Regions from separate parts of the Homo sapiens genome. Here regions 2 and 3 are each linked to region 1. Evidence: promoter capture Hi-C in 16 types of primary human blood cells and fetal thymus (Javierre and others, 2016). All regions are on one chromosome and are shown on one strand. Each heading gives the region's core, a stretch centred on a gene start or on the middle of the fragment in contact. The rest is flanking DNA. Distances are from core to core; before and after follow the strand shown.

Evidence for each region. Contacts are between HindIII fragments. The CHiCAGO score rates a contact against its expected background, and 5 or more counts as called.
Region 2: a contact is called between a fragment that was not itself captured here and the fragment with the promoter of PADI4 in region 1, in 4 of 17 cell types (megakaryocytes, M1 macrophages, neutrophils and 1 more). The highest score is 8.9, in megakaryocytes.
Region 3: a contact is called between a fragment that was not itself captured here and the fragment with the promoter of PADI4 in region 1, in 2 of 17 cell types (megakaryocytes and M1 macrophages). The highest score is 6.0, in megakaryocytes.

Annotation. Positions count from the first base shown.
Region 1 is chr1:17,306,505-17,310,769 of GRCh38, reverse strand. PADI4 (peptidyl arginine deiminase 4) reads right to left here and starts at 2,573. Exons shown (of 16, transcript NM_012387.3): 1 at 2,456-2,573. The coding sequence starts at 2,547. The HindIII fragment of the contact is 10,543 bases long and covers 2,166-4,265 here.
Region 2 is chr1:17,398,339-17,402,603 of GRCh38, reverse strand. It overlaps PADI6 (peptidyl arginine deiminase 6), which reads right to left. Exons shown (of 16, transcript NM_207421.4): 15 at 3,757-3,918; 16 at 905-1,399. The coding sequence ends at 1,166. Among named protein-coding and RNA genes, the nearest start is that of PADI6, 28 kb to the right of the region's middle. RefSeq lists an enhancer at 833-1,769. The HindIII fragment of the contact is 4,174 bases long and covers 362-4,265 here.
Region 3 is chr1:17,373,101-17,377,365 of GRCh38, reverse strand. It overlaps PADI6 (peptidyl arginine deiminase 6), which reads right to left. Exons shown (of 16, transcript NM_207421.4): 2 at 4,133-4,265; 3 at 1,867-1,939. Among named protein-coding and RNA genes, the nearest start is that of PADI6, 3.0 kb to the right of the region's middle. RefSeq lists an enhancer at 1-176. The HindIII fragment of the contact is 316 bases long and covers 2,280-2,595 here.

The sequences.
Region 1 (4,265 bases), core at 1,324-3,823:
AGGCTGGTCTCGAAATTCTGACCACAAGTGATTTGCCCATCTTGGCCTCTCAAAGTGCTGGGATTACAGGCATAAGCCACCGTGCCCAGCTTGCCACCTTTAATTTATGTGACCCTCGGTTAGGTGTTTTTGCCTCTTTTTTTTTGAGACAGAGTCTTACTCTGTCACCCAGGCTGGAGTGCACTAGCCCAATCTTGGCTCACTGCAACCTCTGCCTCCCGGGTTCCTGACTTTGGGGACAGAGAGAATGGCTTGAGCAAAGTTATGGAGGCATGAATATGAGGGGCGGAGGTGAGGAGGGAGTGGCCCTCCCACCTGTGTGGTTCAGGAAGAGGCCGATGGCTGCTCAGGAGATGGGAGGGAGGCGCTGTCTGGGGCTATGTTAAGAACAGATAAGAAGTGACAGGAAGGTCTGGAACGGAGACCCATGGGGAGAATGGAGGGTCCTAGAGTCAGGCTGCCTGGGTTGAGTCCTGGCTCCCCTACTTATTAGCTGTGTGGCTTGAGGTGGGTTACTTAACTTCTTGGAGCCTCTGTTTCCTCTTTTGTAAAATGGGAATAACAACATTACCTGCCTCCCAAGGCCATTGAATGAGTTGAATGTAGGAAGTGTGATGTAAATATTAGCCATTGTTACGTGAGATGTTCAGGGGATAGAGTGACAGGCTCAACGTGTGGCTGAAGGAGGAGAAAAGAAGGATTTAGAGGCCCCTGTGAACTCCGGAGTCCCCATCCTTTCTGGGAGAAATGGGCAGTGCCTTCCTCTCTGCCCAACACTGACCAGCTGTCCACCCACCTCTCTAGGGCCAGAGGAAGCACTTGTGATCTTGATTACTACTCATGGACGCTGGGTAGAGGGCTAGCCTGGGCATGCTGGGAGAGGCCCTGGGCTAGCTTCAGCTCCTGTCATTTCCTTCACACCCATTCTCAGAGGAGTTGGGGGCGCCTCAGATGATGTCAGGTGATTTTCTTTTTCCTTTTCTCCCCAACTTCTTGGTCTCCTGCCTCCACCATGTGGCCCTGGGAGACCATCCCGACATTTCCTGCTGTTCTCTGGCTGCTGGGGCTCAGGCAGTAGCAAAGAAATGTCCCCGGCACTCCTGTGGGCACCATTCTAGGGCCACCGATGCCCAGACTGGGATGGGGAAGCCAGGGGCAACCACTCCTATTCCTGACAACAGCAATTGTTGCAGGATAATTTAGGAATCAGAGAGACCGAGGGGTTGAGGAGGATTTATTATTTAGATTCACTGGCTCAGTCAGGCTAACATTTCAAAAGACTGAGCCCTGAACAAAGAGTTAAGTTATCTTTTAAGCATTTCATGGGGCGGGGGTAGATCTGTGCAGGGGGAAGCATATTATAGAGGCAAGAAACAAAGACAGTTATTTAATTGAGACATGCATTATATTATTTTTTACTTTTTAAGGAAAAAAATTTTTACAGCTTGAGTTTATCTGTCTAGTGACCTTGCAGCTGCACAGCTGGAGAAACAGGGTCTTTACAATGCCTGGAAAAAGAGGAGCAATAAGGCTCACTAGCCACAAAAAAACAGGCAGTTAATTTTTAAGGGACTCCAGCTCTTTTTTTTTTTTTTTTCCAGGGAAAATTGTTTTTTTTTTTTTTAACATAGAACTGAGTTTTTGCTTACACGTTTTAAAATTTCTTTTAATTCCTGTTCTACAATAACAACAATGACCCTGCACACTCCCCGAGAGCATTCCTCAACTCTCTTGTTTAACCCAGACCCTGCCACAGAGCATGGCACTCAGCATTTGTTAAATGAGTAAATAAAAACTACCAAGGATGGGCCCACCACTGTGCTAAGTACTCAGCCAACATCTGCACATTTTTTCACATTGAATTCCTATAACCAGCCCATGATGTGAGTATTATCCCCATTTCACAGATGAGGCAACTGAGGCTCAGTTGCCCAAGGCCTCCTTGCTAGCCAGCAGCAGGTCCAGGCTTCCTACCTCAGTCTCTGCCGCCACAGAGCCCCGTTTCGCCATCCCCACCCACGCTATTATGCACCCACTGAGGGAGGCTTAGCTAAGAGATGTGGGGTAACAAACTGTGCTGTGAACCAGGAGGCCCAGGGGCTAACCTTACTTCCAGGGCACACGTGCTGTGTGACCTTGAGCAAGTCACAGACTCTCTGTAAGCTTCTGTTGCCTCGATGAAGACAGGGAGATGGATGGCCTGGTTTGCCCCATAATAATTTATCTGTCGTGTGTTCCTGGGGAATTTGCACTTGTACATGGCAAAGAACCCACAGCCATGAGACTGGCACTTCCCAGGGCTGCTGGGGTCTTCTCTCTCCAGCTACTCCCCTGGCAGTGGCTGCAGAGGCTGGAGCCTAGAGCCTGGGCCAAACACATGCTCCTGTGTCAGTAGAACTGGGTCATCCAGCATCTCCTGACCTGCCTCCAAAACCCCAGAAGGCCCCCCTCTTACCTGCAGATGTCAAGCTGAGTCAAGGTGCCCAGCACACACACGGCATGGGTGGGCTGCTCTGGGGTCACACGGATCAATGTCCCCTGGGCCATCGTCGGGCTAGCTCGTCCCTCTGGCTGTAGGAAGCCCCTGGGCTGGTTCCTTTATATCGCCCAGCAGAGGCCATGAGTCAGCACCTGCGGTCTGTGGCCCAGAGGCTCAACCCCTCCCCACTCAGGTCAGGGGTGTGGGCTCTCAAAATCTCCTCTGCCCTGGGGCTGCCCCTCGGACCTCTAGATGGGTGTCAATGCTGGTACCAGTGGCAGGGTGGCTCTGTCAGTTTCTTGGGAAGGATGGATGGCTCAGAAAGCCTGGGGTGGAGAGTGGGGCTGAGGGGTTGGGTCCTGGTCCTCATGCCCACAGTCCCATCCCTGCCTAGAGGCCCTGAACACCTTGATCTATCCAATCTCACCTATGTCAAACAGGCATATCAGAGAGGAGAAGGTGGGAAAAGCGGGGAGATTTTAGGTAAGCAGTCACAGGCCAGGCTACACGTTCAAAGACCAACCAGGCTTGGGACAAGTCTCTCCACCTGGGCCACCCACATGACAGCTCACATTCTCTATGCCAGGCACGTTTTCCTGCACTTCACATAGAATAGCTCATTACGACAAACCCGTGAACTAGATCATACCATTATCCCCTTATTTCACCCTCACAGCAGCCCTCTGAGGTTGGTGCCATTATTATACCCATTTTACAGAGGAGAAAACAGAGGTGCAGTTCTTCCACAGCTCGAGAGTGGTAGGGCCAGAATTGGAACCAAAGGTGTCCAGTTCCAGAGTGTGAGATTCATTAGCTGCCTGTCTATATGACACGTGCTTTCCAGACTGTATCACAGCTACATCTCGCTACAATACAAGGTGTATATGGGCTTATTATTACAACCCATTTTACAGAAGGAAAATTGAGGCTCAGAGAGTAAAAGTGACTAGCTCTTGCCCAAGGTGCCAGAGCTAGAATGCGGCAGAGCTGGGAAGAGAAGATGAGCTTCCTGGCATGGAAGTTGATGTTCTCTGCATGCTCCAGGATACCTGCCTCTTGCCAGGGCCTCTGGGTGTCAGACCAGACAGTGCAGGTGTGGGCCACGCCTGCCAGGGGGATGCCCATGTGGCCTCAGAGCTGTGGTTGCACCTGGGCCATTGGTGCCAGGCTCTGCCTTTAATGAGGCAACTGGGGGGTGGTGGATGGGTCCCAACAAGGAGCACTCAAAGGGTGCATGCATGGGAGTCTGGCGTGAACATAGAGCGTTTCGTGGGTTGGATATCTTGCGTTTGTTTTTTGTTTGCTTGCTTTGGCTTTGAAGCAAAGAATTTGCCTCATTAATTCAGAGTCAGGCTGTGGGATCAAACAGGCTTTAGTTCAAATCCTGCCTCATCTCAACATCCCTATGGAGTGCGTCCTATCAGGATGCCCATGTGTAGATGAGACCACAAAGACTTAGAGAGATTGAGTGAGACCCCCAAGGTCTCATAAGCCCTACAGTGGGGATCTGGATTCAGACCACCTTCTCTGGGCTCAAAATTTATCTTCTGTACCAGCAGATGATGATGTGGCCAGGTCCGACGTTCTGACGCATCTACATGACTGCCTGCACACAGTGTTAATAAACCCAATTTCTCTGGCTGACCGCATGATTAGAACTAGTTTGAGCTTCTACTGGGAAGTGGCAGGAGGGAGCTGTCCATTGTTAGAGTTGGGAGGGCCCTTAGAGAACACCCAATCCAGTCCTCGTTTTGCAGAAGGGGAGACTGAAGCACAGAAAGGGAGT
Region 2 (4,265 bases), core at 1,199-3,698, 92 kb before region 1:
AACGAGATGTCGTAAGATGTCCTGGGGTAGCTGGCACACCAGGGCACAGCTCTTGGATAAAAACCCACATCTGATCCAGAGACCAGCCCTGCTGCCCCAACCCTGGCTTCTGCCTCGCTTCCTTAGGATGACCCTCCTCCACTGCCCCAGCAGCTGGCAGAGGCTGGCCAGGTCCTGCCTGCTGCCCACAGAGCCCCAGGTGTTAGGAAGGGGGCTAGTTTGAGGCCCAGCTCTGCCTTCAACTCCCTGTGGGACATGGACACAGGGCTCCCTTCTCAGGTTCTACCCTGAGGATTAGAGTGTCCTAGAGTCATCATCATCCAGGAGGAGCAGGGTGGGAGCCACAGCGCCAGTTAAAGCTTAACAGCATCCCTGTACCATTAACACAGGGGTGGTCAGATGGGAATATGTGGCTTTGGGCCCTGGAGGGGACATTTCAGGCTGAGGGTCAGCCCAGGTCCACCCCTGCTGTGCCTTCTCAAAGAGGCCACACCTACAGACCCAAGGAGACCAGAGCCTCCACTTGCTGAGGCCAGCTGCCTGCCGTGCATGGCACCACCCCCACCGTGGGCCTGCCCCCTCCAGGTCCTACCAGTCCCAAGGGGGAGGCCCTCGACCTTCCTCTAGCCTGGGCCCTGGACTCTAGACCCAGCTTGTCCCAGTTGCTTAAACCAGAGCAGCATTTGGATAATCTTAAATCCATTTGGATAATCTAAGTCCATTTGGATAAGTCCAACCACTTCCTGCCACGACATAATTTAGAGATGAGGGGAAGGACAGCAACTGATGTAGCCAAGTCTCTCCCCCCACACAAGCAGGCCAGCATGGCCATAGGTATCTCAGCTCAGCCTTGTCCTCAGTTGTCACTTATCCCCTCCCCAAACAAGGAGGTCACTGCCAAGATGCATTCACACCCACCAGCCCTTTATTGGCTATTTAGTAAACGTCACTTGGCTGAACACTTTTGCATCTTTTCCCCATAGGGGTTCAAGCTGGCGGCATTTGCCATCCTACTGGGTCCGAGGGTCGGTCGGGGCAGACAGGGAAGAAAGGGTTCTGTTGCCTGGACTCTCCAGCCTCCTCTACTGGGCAAAGAATCATGCTGTTGCATGGTGACAGTGGGCCATCCACGCTGGGGCAGAGCTGGCAGCTCCAGGGCCTGGGTCTAAGGTACCATCTTCCACCATTTGAAGGCAAAGGGCACCCGGCGGATGTTGGCACAGGCACAGATGTCTCCGACCTCTGTCAGGTAACAGTCAAAGTCATTGATGAAGGTGCACTTGAAGCCCAGGGGCTCCAGCAAGCAGCAAATCTTTTCTTCCAGGCAGCAGGTCCCCTTGATTTGGGGCCCAAAAGGCTTGGGGATCCCCAGGTTCTTGCCCATCACAATCATCCGCAACTGTTAGAAAGACAGGGTGGGTGAGGCCTGGACAGGGATCAGAGGCCTGAAAGCCAGCCGCCCACCTGCCTCTCTGCGGTCAGACCAGGCGTAGCAGGCAGGCAGCCGCCTCCTCCAGGTCAGTGAAACCCAGCTCACTTTTGCTTAGCCCTACAATGGCTGTTTCTCAACAGCCAGATAAAATCCTGCCTGGCCAAGGTCTGGGATTGTCAACTTCTCTAGTTTCTACGTTTCGATTATTCTGGCCTCTTGTCACCTGGATACAACACATGGCTGCTGCCTCCACTGAAACACTCTCCCCACCCCCGCTTTGTCAGTTGACTGCTGCGCATCTTTTGTATCTCAACTCCTCCTCAAAGCAGCTTCTTACCGTTACTCACCCCTGCCGGACCACACTGAGCTGATCAAGTTAGAAGACACCCATGTACAATTGGAGCATGCAGGGCCTGTGTCCCTAGGACCCAGGGAAGAGGTCAGCAGGTGTTTAGAGAATTGGGGCACTCAAATGCCTCAGTTCATTTTACACACCTATATAAGGGGTCAGTTGTTACATGAGAAAGTTCAGATGTGAGCCACAGTCGGCATAGGCTTGGTGAAGCCAGGACCTCTTGTACTCACAGCCCCACTCTTGACTATAACTTCTGGTTTAGAATAAGTAGGAACAGAATTTAAAAAACAAAAACAAACAAACAAAAAAACAAAACAGTTTTGCTCTTGTTGCCCAGGCTGGAGTGCAACAGGGTGATCTCCGCTCACTGCAACCTCCACCTCCCAGGTTCAAGCGATTCTCCTGCCTCAGCCTCCTGAGTAGCTGGGATGACAGGCATGCACCACTACACCTGGCTAATTTTGTATTTTTGGTAAAGACAGTTTCTCCATGTAAGGCTGGTCTCGCAGTCCTGACCTCAAGTGATCTGCCTGCCTGGGCCTCCCAAAGTGCTGGGATTACAGGTGTAAGACACCACGCCCAGCCCCAGAATGTTTTTTTTTTTTTTTGGTTTGGTTTATCAGACAAGGTCTTGGTTTGTTACCCAGGCTAGAGTGCAGTGGCTCATTGTAGCCTCCACCTCCGGGGCTCAAGAAATTGTCCTGCCTCAGCCTCCTGAGTGGCTGAGACTACAGGCATGTGGCACCACACCCAGCATTTTTTGTTTTGTTTTGTTTGTTTTTTTGGGAGACAGTCTTGCTGTTGCCCAGGCTGGAGTCCAGTGGTGCAATCTTGGCTCACTGCAACCTCTGCCTCCTGGGTTCAAGGGATCCTCCTGCTTCAGCCTCTGATTAGCTGGGATTATAGGCATGCACCACCACACCCAGCTAGTTTTTTGTATTCTTACTAGAGAGTTTCAACCATGTTTGCAGGGCTGATCTCGAACTTCAGACTTCAAGTGATCCACCCACCTCAGCCTCCCAAAGTGCTGAGATTACGGGCATGAGCCACTGCACCCTGGCCCCAGCATTTTTTTTTTCTTTTTTTTAAAGTTGCAGGGTCTCACTATGTTGCCCTAGCTGCTCTCCAACTCCTGAGTTCAAGTGATCTTCCCACCTCAGCCTCCCAACGTACTAGAACTACAGGTGAGCCACCACGACCAGCCAAGCAGAATAAATATTAGAGACGGAGTTTCAGTCTTGTTGCCCAGGCTGGAGTGCAATGGAGTGATCTAGGCTCAATGCAACCTCTGTCTCCGGGGTTCAAGCAATTCTCCTGTCTCTGCCTCCTGAGTAGCTGGGATTACAGGCATGTGCTACCACACCCAACTAATTTTGTATTTTTAGAGACAGGGTTTCTTCATGTTGGTCAGGCTGGTCTCAAACTCCTGACCTCAGGTGATCCACCTGCCTCGGCCTCCCAAAGTGTTGGGATTACAGGCATGAGCCACTGCGCCTGGCCTAGAATGTTATTTTAAGGGCTGATGTACCTCTATGTATCAGACACTGCTGCCCTGGACCCTGGAGATAGCGGACAGGAAGACCCACCCTGAGGTAGGTTGCTCAAGGCCTCGCTGCTGGCAGATGCGCGGCAACCTCGACTCTGGGTTGCATAGCACCCCATCCGAAGTGGGCCTCACAGGTTCACCCTTTTAGACTGGGGGCGCAGCTCACTGAGGCTCCTAAAGCACCTGGCCCAGGGCCTGGCCCATAGTAACTGCCTGGGGAACCTCCAAGCCTTCAGGCCCTGTACACTTGCTCTCTGGGTGGGGCGTCCCTAACCGAGATGGGGGAGAAGGGGTCTCCCTCCCATTTCCTCATAGGTACCGTTATCTGCTGTCCACCATATCTGCAGTCCAGCACAGTGAGGTGGCAGCCAGTGTTGCCTGGACAGGCCCTCCCCCACCCAGGGATGCGCAGTCGCCCCTCACCAGGTCAGGGAAGTATGGCCTCGCAAAGGACCTCTTGGGCTGCTGGTCAGAGGGGATGTTAGTCAGCTTCTCCAAGCAGAACAGCTGGGGAATCTCGATGATGTCCTGTTCCACCAGGCCCAGCTCCGTCTTCAGGATGTCACGGTTCAGGTGAATGCACTTCTGTGGGTGGGTGGGTGGGTGGGGGGGGGGGCGGGGGAGCAAGGAGAGCTCATCAGGAATTAAAACCAGTTTCCTTCCATACTGAAGGTAGGTGATGGCCTGACACCACTACCATCCCCATCACTTGCTGTGTGCCAGGAGCCTCACACTTCATACCAGCCTTACGAAATAGGCAGTTCCCTTTTCACATGGGGAAGTAGGGGCTCAGGAATGGCCTAGTCTTTAGTCCAGGATCCCATGGCTAGACAGCGTCTGGCACTTCTCAACCCAGACCAGCTGAGCCCAATACCCAGGCATCTCCCTAGGTCTTGAAATAGGCTTCAGACATAACCCAACACACCTGTCTC
Region 3 (4,265 bases), core at 1,188-3,687, 67 kb before region 1:
GGTTCTGAGAAGGAACAGGCAGGAGGAAAAATAAGTTGAACATCCCTGAAGCGTTCAAGTGTGTTAAGAGGGGATTGACCAGCAGGTACGTGGCTCATGCCTGTAACTCCAGCACTTTGGGAGGCTGAGGCGGGAGGATCACTTGAGGCCAGGAGTTTGAGACCAGGCTGGGCAATATGGTAAAACCCTCTCTATGGGGGAAAAAATAAAATAAAAAAATAAAGTCAGCTGGGCATGGTGGTGCGTGCCTGTAGTCCCAGCCACTCTGGAGATTGAGGTGGGAGGAGCCTGGGCAACATAGGGATACCTATGTCTGTATAAAAAATTAACCAAGTATGGTGGTATAACACCTATGGTCCAAGCTACTGGAGAGGCTGAGGTGAGAGGATCGTTTGAGGCTGCAATGAGCCATGATCGTGTCTCTTCACTCCAGTTCAGCTTAGGCTACAGAGTGAGACTGTCTCAAAAACAAAAAACAAGACAAAACAAAACAAAACAAAAACACAAAAGAACCCACACAAACCAAAAACTTAGTGTTGTAGATGTTAGAGTTCTAAAAGAACTCCGTTGGTGGTAGGTGTCTAATTTGAGAAGATTCTAGAGAAATTGAGGACACAGATGGCTCCTCAGGAAGAGAGGTGGGAGAATAGACTTTAAAAGACAACCTAGGCCCAGCACAGTGGCTCACGCCTGTAATCCCAACACTCTGGGAGGCTGAGGTGGGCGGATCACGAGGTCAGGAGATTGAGACCAGCCTGGCCAACACAGTGAAATCCCGTCTCCACTAAAAATACAAAAAAATTAGCCCACTAAAAATACAAAAAAAATAGCCCACTAAAAATAAAAAAAATTAGCCCACTAAAAATAAAAAAAATTAGCCCACTAAAAATAAAAAAAAATTAGCCGGGCATGGTGGCGGGTACCTATAGTCCCAGCTACTCGGGAGGCTGAGGCAGGAGAATGGTGTGAACCTGGGAGGTGGAATGGGCAGTGAGCCAAGATCGCGCCACTGCACTCCAGCCTGGGCAACAGAGCAAGACTCCATCTCAAACAAAAACAAACACCCTAGAATCAGGTTTAAGAGAGATGATATGGCCAGGCACAGTGGCTCACGCTTGTAATCCCAGCACTTGGGGAGGCCGAGGCAGGTGGATCGCGAGGTCAGGAGTTCGAGACCAGCCTGGCCAACATGGTGAAAACCTGTCTCTACTAAAAATATAAAAATTAGCCAGGCATGGTGGCACACACCTATAGTCCCAGCTAATCTGGAGGCTGAGGTAGGAGAATCACTTGAACCTGGGAGGCAGAGGTTACAGTGAGCCGAGATCATGCCACTGTACTCCAGCCTGAGTGACAGTAAGACTCATCTCAGAAAAAAAAGAAAAAAAAAGTAGATGTTATAGAGCTTGTTCCTGAGCTGATGGGGGTGATCTAGAGGGCGGGGAAGGGTGGCGGCTTCTTACATTGGTAAGAATTGACAAAGGAATGTTCTTGAATAAGAAAGGATCTAGTGAGACAAGAAAGACTAACTTTGGACCAGATGCGTCAATTAGTAACAAAGGAAGAAGGTAGGCACTAGACAGGCGTAGGTGGGTAGATGGCAGCGACACGGAAGTTCTGGCTGTTTCTATTCTCAGAATTAGGTTGGCAGTGCACGAAGATGGAGAAGTGACTGAGCGTCGAGGAGGGAGTGTGTGAGTGGGTATCTCAAATGAATCCATTTAGGAGTTTGTTCAGGAGTTCCTGGGGCCCACAGGAGGCATCTTGTTACCTGGAGAATCTTTTTTGGCTCCTCCTACAATCCCACCCCTTCCCCAACCCCAGCGGTGAGTTGGGCCCCAGGCTCCCAGTTGGAGCAACACTCACCAATGCCAGTGAGGTACAGCACAGCTGTGCCCACGGGGGCATCCTCGTTGGGCCCATAGTATGTGACCGAGACCTGTGGAGACAGCATCCCGAAACCATAGGCAGTGTTGGACGGGAGGTGCCAGGAACAGAGCCCCAGGCCATGTGCCGAGTCTAGGCGTGGGATCTTGGTCTTGTGTTATGGCTTCTGAAGTCTCACCTATGAGCTGGTATGGGGCCACAGCCCTGCGCTTAGGGCTGAGTCAGTCCCCTAAGGACTTAGAACCTGCCATGACCCCCAACCCTAACCTTGTCGAGAGCCAGGCTTGAAACCACCTGTCCACGTGAGAGCTGTATCCCTGATGGCGGGGTGATCAAGGGACTTATCCCAAAGGGATTTAAGAAACAGGCTGCCTGGCTCTAGAGCCCAAGCTTGAAACCACACTATACATCCTCCCTGCTAAACCCACTCTCCTGGGGTCCCATGTCCTACTCCATAAGGTGCACGGTGGGGAAACAGGCCTCTGGTGGCTTAAGCTGCTCACTAAGAAGGACACCCAGGTGAAGAAGCAGCGTTGGGACTCAGTCCCAACTGTGGGACTGTGTCCCACACCAGCCTCTACTTTATGCTTTTAGAAAGAGACCTGCCCTCCAGCCACTGACCCTGACCACAAGGTCTTGGTCATGAACCAGAGACCCAACCATTGGCCAGAGCATGTGACAGATCCACCCCATCCTTAAATAGAAGCTTTAGTCCTCTAAGTTCAAGGTTCTTTGTTGGCCACTCCTGAGGGTCCTGGAGGCCGAGCCCTGGGCAGAGAATGGTTCTCAGGTAGTCTGGAGTTCCACTGGCACCCACCGTGGCCTCCATTCTTATCTGAGATACCTTTTTTTGCGATGGAGTTTTGTTCTTGTTGCCCAGGCTGTAATGCAGTGGGACAATCTCAGCTTACTACAACCTCCACCTCCTGGGTTCAAGCGATTCTCCAGCCTCAGCCTCCTGAGAACCTGAGATTACAGGCACCTGCCACCACACCTGGCTAATTTTTGTATTTTTAGTAGAGACAGCGTTTCACCATGTTGGCCAGGCTGGTCTCAAACTCCCGACCTCAGGTGATCTGCCCATCTCAGCCTTCCAAAGTGCTGGGATTACAGGCATGAGCCACCACACCTGGCCAGAGACACTCAGTTCCTACCTAAGTCCACTACTTGCCTCTCAGGGAGTTGCCTGCCCTGGGCACACAGCGCAGGTGGGTGTGTGTACCTACCCCTCTGCAGCAGACATCTCCAGTAGGTCCTGTAGGGTGTGGGGGGAGGGAGGGAGAGCTCTCCCAGTCCTGAACTGCTCCATCATGGTTCTCACCCCCAGCCCCGCACTGGGTGCACCTGGAGAGCTTTAAACCAGCGGCCAGGATCCTAGCCCTGAGGTTCCATTGGTACCTCAGGTTTAATTGGTAGAGGGGGTGTGGCCTGGGTATTGATGTTATTAGCTCCCCAGTGGTTCTCACCTGCAACCAAGGTTGAACACTCCTGCCCTGAATGAGCCACCTGCTTCTACCACAGGAGAACCTCCCCAACATAGGCACCCCATTAGGGAGACAGCTTACCCAGGGGAGAATACACCCTTGGGCTCAAGCTCAAATCCTGGGTCTATCCCACTCTAGGTAGGCTACTTAGGTTTAGACACAGCACTCTGTGCCTTAGTTTCCTCATATGTAAAGTGATGGTAGGCCAGGTGTGGTGGCTCATGCCTGTAATCCCAGCACTTTGGGAGGTGGAGGCAGGTAGATCACTTGAAGTCAGGAGTTTGAGACCAGCCTGGCCAACATAGTGAAACCCTGTCTCATACTAAAAATACAAAATTAGCCGGGCATGGTGGTGGGTGCCTGTAGTCCCAGCTACTCGGGAAGCTGAGGCAGGAGAATTGCTTGAACCCGGGAAGTGGAGGTTGCAGTGAGCTGAGATTGTGCCATTGCACCCCAGTCTGGGCAATGAGCGTGAGACTCAAAAAAAAAAATAATAATAAATAAATGAAAATAAAAAATAAATCCCAGTCCTGCTGGTTGCTGACTTGGCAGGGCACCTTCGCTAGGTGCCTCTGTTTCTTTGTAAAATGGGGTCATGGAGTGCCCACACCACTGGTCTGTTGCAGACACTGGATGAGATCAGACGTGCAAAACAACGTGTTTCCCAGGCTCGAGTCACGTCTGCAGCCAGGAGGAAGCCCCAGTGGCTGTGCTAGGTCCCACCCCGGGAGATGCCCCTCACCTCTTCCCCTGAGGCTTACCTTATCCGCATCCACGGAAGGGCTGGGCGATGTCATCTTCACTGTGGCGTACGTGGGATCAGACAGGGGCCACCAGATGGTGGCGTCCTCCTTCTCAGAAATCACCGTGTTGGCCACATCGATCAAGACCCTC